3 separate regions of the Homo sapiens genome follow, and all the other regions are linked to region 3. The links are contacts of gene promoters, found by promoter capture Hi-C in human tissues and cell types (Jung and others, 2019). All regions are on one chromosome and are shown on one strand. The core of a region is centred on a gene start or on the middle of the fragment in contact, and the rest is flanking DNA. Distances in the headings are between cores, read along the strand shown.

Region 1 (2,700 bases), core at 182-2,681, 190 kb before region 3:
GCCCTGGGGCCGTGCTGGGACCCAGGGGCAGCCAAGGCTGACCTCTGTCCTTCTGCCCATCTGCCCAGGCCACTGCGGACGATGCGGAGACCAGTGAGGCCACGGAGATCATCGAGGGCACCCAGACAGAGGTGAGGGGTAGGGCAGGCGGGGGCGGGGAGGCTCCCTGGCACAGCCGCTCTTGCTGAGCCGTGGCCCTGCAGGTGGACAGCCACATCATGAAGGTGGTGCAGCAGATCGTGCACCAGGCTAGCGCCGGCCACCAGATCATCGTGCAGAACGTCACCATGGACGAGGAGACGGCGCTGGGCCCAGAGGCGGCTGCCGCCGACACCATCACCATCGCCACCCCCGAGAGCCTGACAGAGCAGGTGGCCATGACGCTGGCCTCGGCCATCAGCGAGGGCACTGTGCTTGCCGCCCGGGCAGGGACAAGTGGCACTGAACAGGCCACTGTGACCATGGTGTCATCAGAGGACATCGAGATCCTGGAGCATGCAGGCGAGCTGGTCATCGCCTCGCCGGAGGGCCAGCTGGAGGTGCAGACGGTCATCGTCTAGCATGAGGTCTGCGGGGTCCTGGCCGGGCAGGGACAGGGCAGAGGACTCTGAGCGCCCCACCCATGCCTGCCTGGCCTGGTAGAGAAGATGGCACAGGATGGAGGCGCCCCAAGACGGACAGTGTACATAAGAGTTTCTTGTTGCTTTACAATAAAACATGAGAACCTGCAGCTTGTGATGTTGTGGCAGTGGCAGCCTCCGCGGCTGGTGCCACCACCTTTGCCCAGGCCCCCGCAGCAGCACCTGCCTCCCAGGCCACTCCTAGACTCACGTGCCTGGCCGCCCCACCCAGGGGCTTCTGCCAGCCCTGGCGGCGCCTTGGTGCTGTGTGGGTGTCATTGGCATGTTGACCAACAGCCTCCTGCCCTGCCCAGCTGGAGCTGTGCCCCCAGCTGCGCTGCCTGAGGCCTGTGGGTGGGTGGGAGGACCAGGGACGGGGACAGGGAGATCTGGGAGCCTCGGCCTCCACCGCAGGGTGAGCAGGTGGAGCAGCAGCAGGAGATGCTGGGTAGGGAGTGTGGCTGGTCCTACCTGCGCTGCCTTGCTTTCCCTGAAGGGATTCTGCTCAGGGAGGCAGAGTCTAGGCGACCTAATTTCTAGGGGCGAGGACAAGAACACAGCCGCACCGGGATGTGGCTGACCGTCTACCTCCCTCCTAGGGGGCTGGCAGGGGCTTCTGGGACGGTTTTGGGACAGGTCTGGGGCACCAGAACCGGCTCAGGCAGGTCTCCCACCCCTTACCCTGGGGGTCTCCATGGGAATGAAAGCCAGGAGTTCATCAGGCACCCAGCTGAGTCGAGGGGGCGGGACCCAGTGCAGCCCGGCCCCTCCCTGGCCCAGGACCTCAAATACCGGCCCCTGCCTTGGTGCCAGAGCTACTGCCAGAGGGAGTCAGTGCAGTCCTGTGTCGGACACGCCCGCAGCCTGGACCCGGGATCCCCATCCCCCTAGGATCTCTGAGCCTCGGGCCTCTGCACCCACATCCAAGGTGAGTCTCTCGGCTGCCCTGAGCTGGGGCTGGATGGGCCGGACCCTCCATTCCGGCTGCAGCTTCCCGCGCAGTGAGAAGGCAGCGGTCCCTGAGAGCCCAGCAGTGCCCTGGGAGCCTGCAGAACGCAGGGGCGGATTCCGCGTCGCACTGGCCGTCAAGGGGCGGCCGCGGAGGGAAGGGGTGGGTCGGTGGGTCTGACAGCGGGTCTGCGTAGGCGGCAGCGTCTGTCCCTCCCAGCCTCTCGCTCCGCGCCATGGGCGGGCCCCGGGCTCTGCTGGCCGCACTCTGGGCGCTGGAAGCCGCCGGGACCGCCGCGCTTCGCATCGGAGCCTTCAACATTCAGAGCTTCGGTGACAGCAAAGTGTCGGACCCCGCTTGCGGCAGCATCATCGCGAAGGTGGGGCCCGGGCCGGGGCGGGGCGGCGTTTAGGGGTGCTGACCGCGCTGACCCCCGCACCCGCCGCTCCTCCCCAGATCCTGGCTGGCTATGACCTCGCGCTGGTGCAGGAGGTGCGAGACCCAGACCTCAGCGCCGTGTCCGCGCTCATGGAGCAGATCAACAGGTGTGGTGGGCAGGGCCCCTCGTCGCGACCCCCCGCCGGGATCTCGCCCCGGCGCGGCGCCCCGACCCTGAGCGGGCCCCTGTCTCCGCAGCGTGTCCGAGCACGAGTACAGCTTTGTGAGCAGCCAGCCCCTGGGCCGGGACCAGTACAAGGAGATGTACCTGTTCGTGTACAGGTGAGGGGCGGGCCGCAGGGAGGGGCGCGCGGGGCCGCAGGTCGGGGGCTCAGCGGGTCCTCCCCATCTCCTAGGAAAGACGCGGTGTCGGTCGTGGACACCTACCTGTACCCAGACCCCGAGGACGTCTTCAGCCGCGAGCCCTTCGTGGTCAAGTTCTCGGCCCCCGGCACCGGTGAGCGGGCCCCGCCCCTCCCCTCCCGCCGAGCTCTGACGCCCCCACCCCTTCCCGCAGCAGCACAGAACCTGGTGCTGATCCCGCTGCACGCGGCGCCGCATCAAGCCGTGGCGGAGATCGACGCGCTCTACGACGTGTACCTGGACGTGATCGACAAGTGGGGCACCGACGTAAGCCCACCCCTCGGTCCCGGGGTCCCTGCAGGCGCGCCCCGGGGGTCTGGTTCATGAGGG
Region 2 (2,791 bases), core at 175-2,674, 230 kb before region 3:
GCCCCCTCTCTCTTACTGCACAGAGTGGACAGGAGCTAGCCAGTCATGGGCTGCTGGTGAAGTACGGGGGAGGGGGTCCTCCTGGGACTCCTAGGTGCCCCCAACAATCTCCCAGAAGCCAGTCCCAGTTCTCGGCATCCCCCTGGAGGAAGGGGAGGGGGACTCTCTGGCTTACAGTCTGTGGGGGTGGAGGGAGGAGGGAGGACGCCCAGACCCCACGTGCCGACCTGCAGAGCCCTGTCCGTGCCCGCACAGGTGCCCTGACACACTGACACGGCTATACGTGCGCAGCCGCACACGCGGCTGGTCCACACGCCCATCCATCCATCTCCGGCGGCCCCCAGGGAGGCTACGCGCTGAGCCAGGATGAGTGCTGGGACCAGGGCTCCAAGCTCCCAGCCCTTTCCTGGGGCCGGCCATAGGGCAAGCTGGGGATGGCCAGTGGTGGTCCCCCACTCCCTCATGGCCTCCTTTCCCAGCAGGGAAGCTGGAGACCCGGCTCTGCTGGAGCCTGCCTGAGCAGGGCCCCAAGCCCTTGCGCCCAGGCCGGCCCTGCCTGGAGTCCAGCCTGCCCTGGGCTGGGCGACCTTGGGCCTCTGCTCTCCCATCAGTAAATGGCACCCCACCGGCCATGCCAGGGCAGCCACACCCCCAGCGTGGTCCTGCCCCCACCTTCCCTGCAAAGCGTGTTATTAAACGTGGGGCGGGAGGGGGTCTGCTAGGGACTGTCACCTCCCGGGTCGCCCCTCGCCGCAGGGGCCCCCTCCCTGTCTTCCCGGTGCGTGTGGTGGGTGGGGGGGGCATCCGCCTCGCCCTTTGAAGGCCCCAGCAGAGACCTCCAGCTGTCAGCCCGCAGCCTGGGAAGGGAGGGGGACAGAGGTAGAGAGAGAGGGATGCGAACGCCCGCGGCCCGGGAGGCGGGTGCCGCCAGGTGCCCGCTGCGGGGCTCACGGTGGCGGCCGGCTCTCGGGGCCGCCCCATCTCCAGTGCTGGGGGCAGCGGGTGGAGGGCACGGACCAAGGGTCTGGGCGCTGCTGGCCCCGCCCCGCCCCCGGGGACCCGACAACGTCCCCTCCCCGCCCGGCGCCGGGTGGGGGGCTCCGCGCCGGGGAGGGGCCCCCGGGGCTCCCACCCGCGCCCCGCGCCCCCGGCACTCACTGGCCTTCCCGGGCCGCGGCCTCTGCAGCAGCCTCTGCGCGGTCCCTACGTCCTCCGCCTTCACCGCCTGCACCAGCTCCTGCTCCTTCCCCATGGCGCGGCCGGGGCCGCAGCGACGCGGCTGCGCTCGTGAGCTCGGCGCGGCTCAGAGGCGGCGGCGGCCCCGCGGCACCGGCCGCCTCCCCCGCCGCCTCCCCCGCCGCCTCCTCGCCGCCCGCCGCCCCTTCGCCCTCCTCGGGCTCCGGCTTGGGCTCGGGCTCCCGGCGCGGAGGGGGCGGGGAGCGCGTCACGGGCGGGGGGCGGCCCGGGGGCGGGGGCGCGCGGCGGGCGCGGGGCGGGGGCGCGGCACCTGGCGCCGCCTCCCGGACGCCGGGGTCCGCTCCCGGGCCGCCGACCTCCGTCAGCCCGCGCCGGCCGCGCGCCCGGGCCCGTGGCTCCGCCCTCCCCGCGCCCGCCCCGGGACGCCCCCTCCCCACGTGCGCGCAGCGCGCTCAGGCCAGGCCTCTGCGGACGCGGGCGGCCTGGGGCTGCTAGCCGGGCTGGGGACGCGGCCGCCGGGGGTGCACTGGGAGCCCCGACGCGGCGGCGGCGCGGGGCTGAGCCCAGAGAGGCTTCCAGAGGCTGCGGGACCCGCGGGGGACGGTTCCGAGGCAGCGGGCGGGCGGGGACCGGGCGCCGAGAGACCCGGGCGCCAGTGCCCCTGGAGCCGGCCCGCCAGGCTGTCAGGCGTTCCTGGCCCAGGGTTCCCGTGGGAGGTGTCGAGGGATTGTGAAGAGGAATCTCCCAATAATGAATTCGGTGTCAGGGAACCCGCACCCCCAACCCCCAAGCATCCTCCTGCTCCTCTCCGCAAATAATGCGGGCGCCACAGCTTCCCCCAGCCTCAGTCCGAAGCCTGACCCCAAGGTAGCCCCCACCACCCCCACTGAGGGAGCTCAACTCCCCACTCCCCGCACCGACTGGGGGTCGCCTCCATCTCCATCCACAGGGGCTGGAACCTCCCGCCGGCACCAACCGACCCCCGGCCCACGTCTGCCCACTCTCCAGCCTGCAGCCCAGGCAGGCGAGTCCTGCTTCCTGGGTGCTGGAGGCCCCGACTTGTGACCCTCTGAGCTCCTGGCTGAAGGCTTGGGCCACCCTGCGCCTCAGGCCCTCTCCCGTCAGGCCTGCAGCATTCTAGAGGCAGATCAGTGGGGGTCTGAGTCCCGACTCAGGCTCCGTTTCCCTCATCACCCAAGCGGGCAAGGCCGTTTGGAGAATTTGGGGAGGGTCGCACCCATTCTATGAGGCATGGCCTGGCACCCCACTCTGTGTGGCCCCAGACCATTGAGCAGGTCCAGGGGGACAGAGGAGGTCAGACAGCAGGGACAGGGAAGGTGACAGGCACCGGGGTCCCGGCATCCTGTGGGCAGCTGGCCGTTCCCGTTCCCTCCGTGGGGTCTCCTGTTAGGTTCAGGTAGCAGCCCTTGGTCTTCCAGCACTCCTGGGAGGGGTCCCCAAATGCTAGGGCCTTTCCTCTTGCCCTTTCCAATGACCAGTTGAGTACCCGCTGGGTCAGGCACTGTGCTGGTCACCTCCTAGATGAGGTTGGACTCACTGTCCCCATTTTACAGATGAAGAAACTGAGGCTCAG
Region 3 (2,700 bases), core at 90-2,589:
GGAGCAGGCCCCAAACTCGCTCAGCCTGTCCTCTCTTCACCCTCCTTCACCCGCTTCCTGATTCCGGGACAGGGAATATTCCCAACTTCCAGACCCTCTCTGGGGCCACGGACTCTTCTGTACCCTGTGCTGTGATCACCTGTTTACTCTGTCTCTTGCCCCAGGCCGGCTGAAGCCTGCACGCCAGGGCTCCTGTCTGTGTGCCCAGGGCAGGCCCAGTACTTGAAGGAGTTCTATGGGGACCCGGAAGGATGGAAGGGTGCAGACTGAGGGAAGCGTGAGGGAGGGGTGGGCAGCCTTGGCCCAGGCCCCTGCCTTCCCCAGGAAAAGCCCCCTCTGTCCTCCACCAGACAGTCAGGAGGCTGCGAGTCTTCCCCTTGACAGCCTGTGCCGTAAAAGGGGTGCGGTGTGGCTGACTCCTGAAGGACAGCTCAGATGGGCACTGCCCAAGACAAGAGTGAGCAGATACGACACTTCCCGCGGCGAGCAGCTCCAGGTAGCAGCCGAGGAGGCCAGACAGGGGGCAGCATCTGGCCAAAGTGATGGGGAGGGCTTGCCCCGGGGCTGGAGCACTGAGGCGTCCAGGGTGCGCCACGTTTCGCGGGAAGAAGGGGTCAGCGTTCCGCGGGGGAGACTTCCCAGCGTCAGCTCCGACCTCCTCTTTCTCTACCACGATCCCGGCCAGCATCCCCGCCCAGCAGCGGCTCAGCCACAAACCCAAGGGTCTCCACCTGAAGCAGGCGGCGGAAGGGAAGGCCGTGCAAGCTGGGGGTGAGGGTCGCGGGCCCAGGAGCGACCCCGGGACCCGGGCAGGGCACGGCCTCGTCTTAGAAGCGCCACGTCGAGGCTGTCCCAGGCTGGATCACGGCCGCGACTGCGAGGGACGCCAAGGAGTCCTCTTTCCCCTGGCCGCAGGCGTGCGCCTTCGCAGCCCATCTGGCACCGCAGATGCCGGTCGCCGGGGTCAGCGGCGAAGCCCGAACCCATGCGGCCGGGAGGGGACGCCCACAAACCCCTGCCCGCCGGCCGGGAAGCGCTCCTACGGGACCCCAGCCCCGTTGGGGAGGCGGGGCGGCCACGCGGGTTCCACCAATCAGCGGCCAATGTTCGAATTCGCGTCCTGGCGCGGCCAATGGCGGGTCCCGGAGCAGGCGGGGAGGGCGTGGAGGGCGGTAAATGAGGCGAGCACAGGGCGGGACATGGGCGGGGCCGGCGGCGGCCCCCCCGGGCAGGCCAATGGGAGGGCCGGGTGCGTTTGAAAACTGGGGTGGGCGGCGGGGCGGGGTCTGCGCCTGCGCGAGGGCTACGCGCGCTCCGGCCGGGGCGCGGGCGCGCTCTCAGGCGGGCTCCGGCGGCAGCGACGCGAGCGCGGCGATGGGGAGCGGCGGCGGTGAGTGCGGGGCGATGTCCGCTGGTTTCTGCCCCACACCCCTTCTGCCTGCCCTGCGGGGCGGACGGTGGGTCCCGCGGGAGGGGAGGCCCTGGCGGCCTGAAGAGGGCTGGCTCGAGCTCTTTAACCCGGGGCGGATGTCGCGTCCCGCGCAGGGAGCCCCGGCGGCCGGGCGCGCGGTTTAAATGCCCGGCGGGCGCCCGAGCCCCTCGGAGCCTTCCCCCGCGGCGACGTTTTCCGGCCCTTTCCTGGGGCAACGATCGGGTCCCGGGGCAGCGATCCGGCGATCGGGTCCCGGGGCGGCGATCGGGTCTCGGGGAGCCAAACACCAGCGCCTCCTGGTCGGGGAAAGGGCTGCGGAGCGCGTGGGGGCGAAGCGATCCCGCAGCCCGGCCGGGCCCTGACCGAGCCTCAGTCCAGCGGGGCCGTGGACCTAGCTCTGTGGAAAGCAGCGTTCGGCCCCGCGCGCGTTGAGGCACAGGAAACACGAACTGTGGTTTCAGCTATTATCATAGTATCTGTCCTGGAGCCGGAGAATGAGGAATATTTTATGGAGAGGTCTATAGAATCTTTGAGAATTCGTCGCCCTGGAATACGTTTGGCTTTTGCAGCTGATTTAATTGCTAACAGGAAGACCCCGGTCAAGAGAGGGGAGCCGGGAGCAATCGCTAGGAAGTCCTAGCAAGGCGGGGAGGGATTTGGGCCCACAGAGGGGAGTGGCGCTTCCTTTCAGGACTGGAAGGAAGGATGGATAGAAAGGTAGATTTGTAGATGGGGAGGCAGGATCCTGAGGTTCCTGTCTGAGGGCTTCTGTTTCCCTGTGAAATAAGGGCTAAGGTCATCTGCTTAGAGTGAGGAAGGGGTTGCTGGAGTAGGAGTTGGAAAATCCGGCTGTGGGAAGAGGAGAGAGCACATCTGAGAAGCATGTCCGGGCTGCCTGCCTGGTGGGTGGAATGCCCGTCTCACCTTTAATGATTGCATCTGTACACAAACCTACAGGTCTAGGTTTGTGTTGGGACCTGAGCAACAACCTTACTGCGTAGCTGTCAACTCCGCATTCTACAATAGAGGGCACACTGAGACTCTGCAGAGCTGAGACTTGGACGCACACTGCCCCGGCCTCCAAGTCTGTGGCTTCTCTCCAGGGCCGACCCTTCTAATTTGGACTTGAAAACCAGACTCTTCAAGCCCACAGATCTTTATTGAACATTATGCACCTTGGTCACGTGTGCAAAAAGCAAAGCTATCCAGCAAAGGCCCCAGGAGTTTTCCTGAGAGTGAAATAGAAGGAAAACCGTCCTCAGCTTCGG

The links. The method cuts DNA at HindIII sites, captures the fragments that hold promoters and counts their contacts. A contact is called where the count stands out against the background at its distance.
Region 1: a contact is called between the fragment with the promoter of DNASE1L2 here and the fragment with the promoter of CCNF in region 3, in 5 of the 25 tissues and cell types used here (H1 embryonic stem cells, bladder, heart left ventricle and 2 more).
Region 2: the fragment with the promoter of CASKIN1 here is called in contact with the fragment with the promoter of CCNF in region 3 in 4 of the 25 tissues and cell types used here (H1 embryonic stem cells, lymphoblastoid cells, mesendoderm cells and 1 more).

What each region holds. Positions count from the first base shown.
Region 1 is chr16:2,235,013-2,237,712 of GRCh38, forward strand. DNASE1L2 (deoxyribonuclease 1 like 2) reads left to right here and starts at 1,432. Exons shown (of 7, transcript NM_001374.3): 1 at 1,432-1,548; 2 at 1,766-1,948; 3 at 2,026-2,114; 4 at 2,206-2,289; 5 at 2,364-2,637. The coding sequence starts at 1,805. It overlaps E4F1 (E4F transcription factor 1), which reads left to right. Exons shown (of 14, transcript NM_004424.5): 13 at 69-131; 14 at 204-730. The coding sequence ends at 560. The HindIII fragment of the contact is 25,906 bases long and covers 1-2,700 here.
Region 2 is chr16:2,195,181-2,197,971 of GRCh38, forward strand. CASKIN1 (CASK interacting protein 1) reads right to left here and starts at 1,425. Exons shown (of 20, transcript NM_020764.4): 1 at 1,159-1,425. The coding sequence starts at 1,252. The HindIII fragment of the contact is 36,898 bases long and covers 1-2,791 here.
Region 3 is chr16:2,428,108-2,430,807 of GRCh38, forward strand. CCNF (cyclin F) reads left to right here and starts at 1,340. Exons shown (of 17, transcript NM_001761.3): 1 at 1,340-1,390. The coding sequence starts at 1,375. RefSeq lists enhancers at 401-980, 416-595 and silencers at 806-1,655, 1,666-1,715. The HindIII fragment of the contact is 14,340 bases long and covers 1-2,700 here.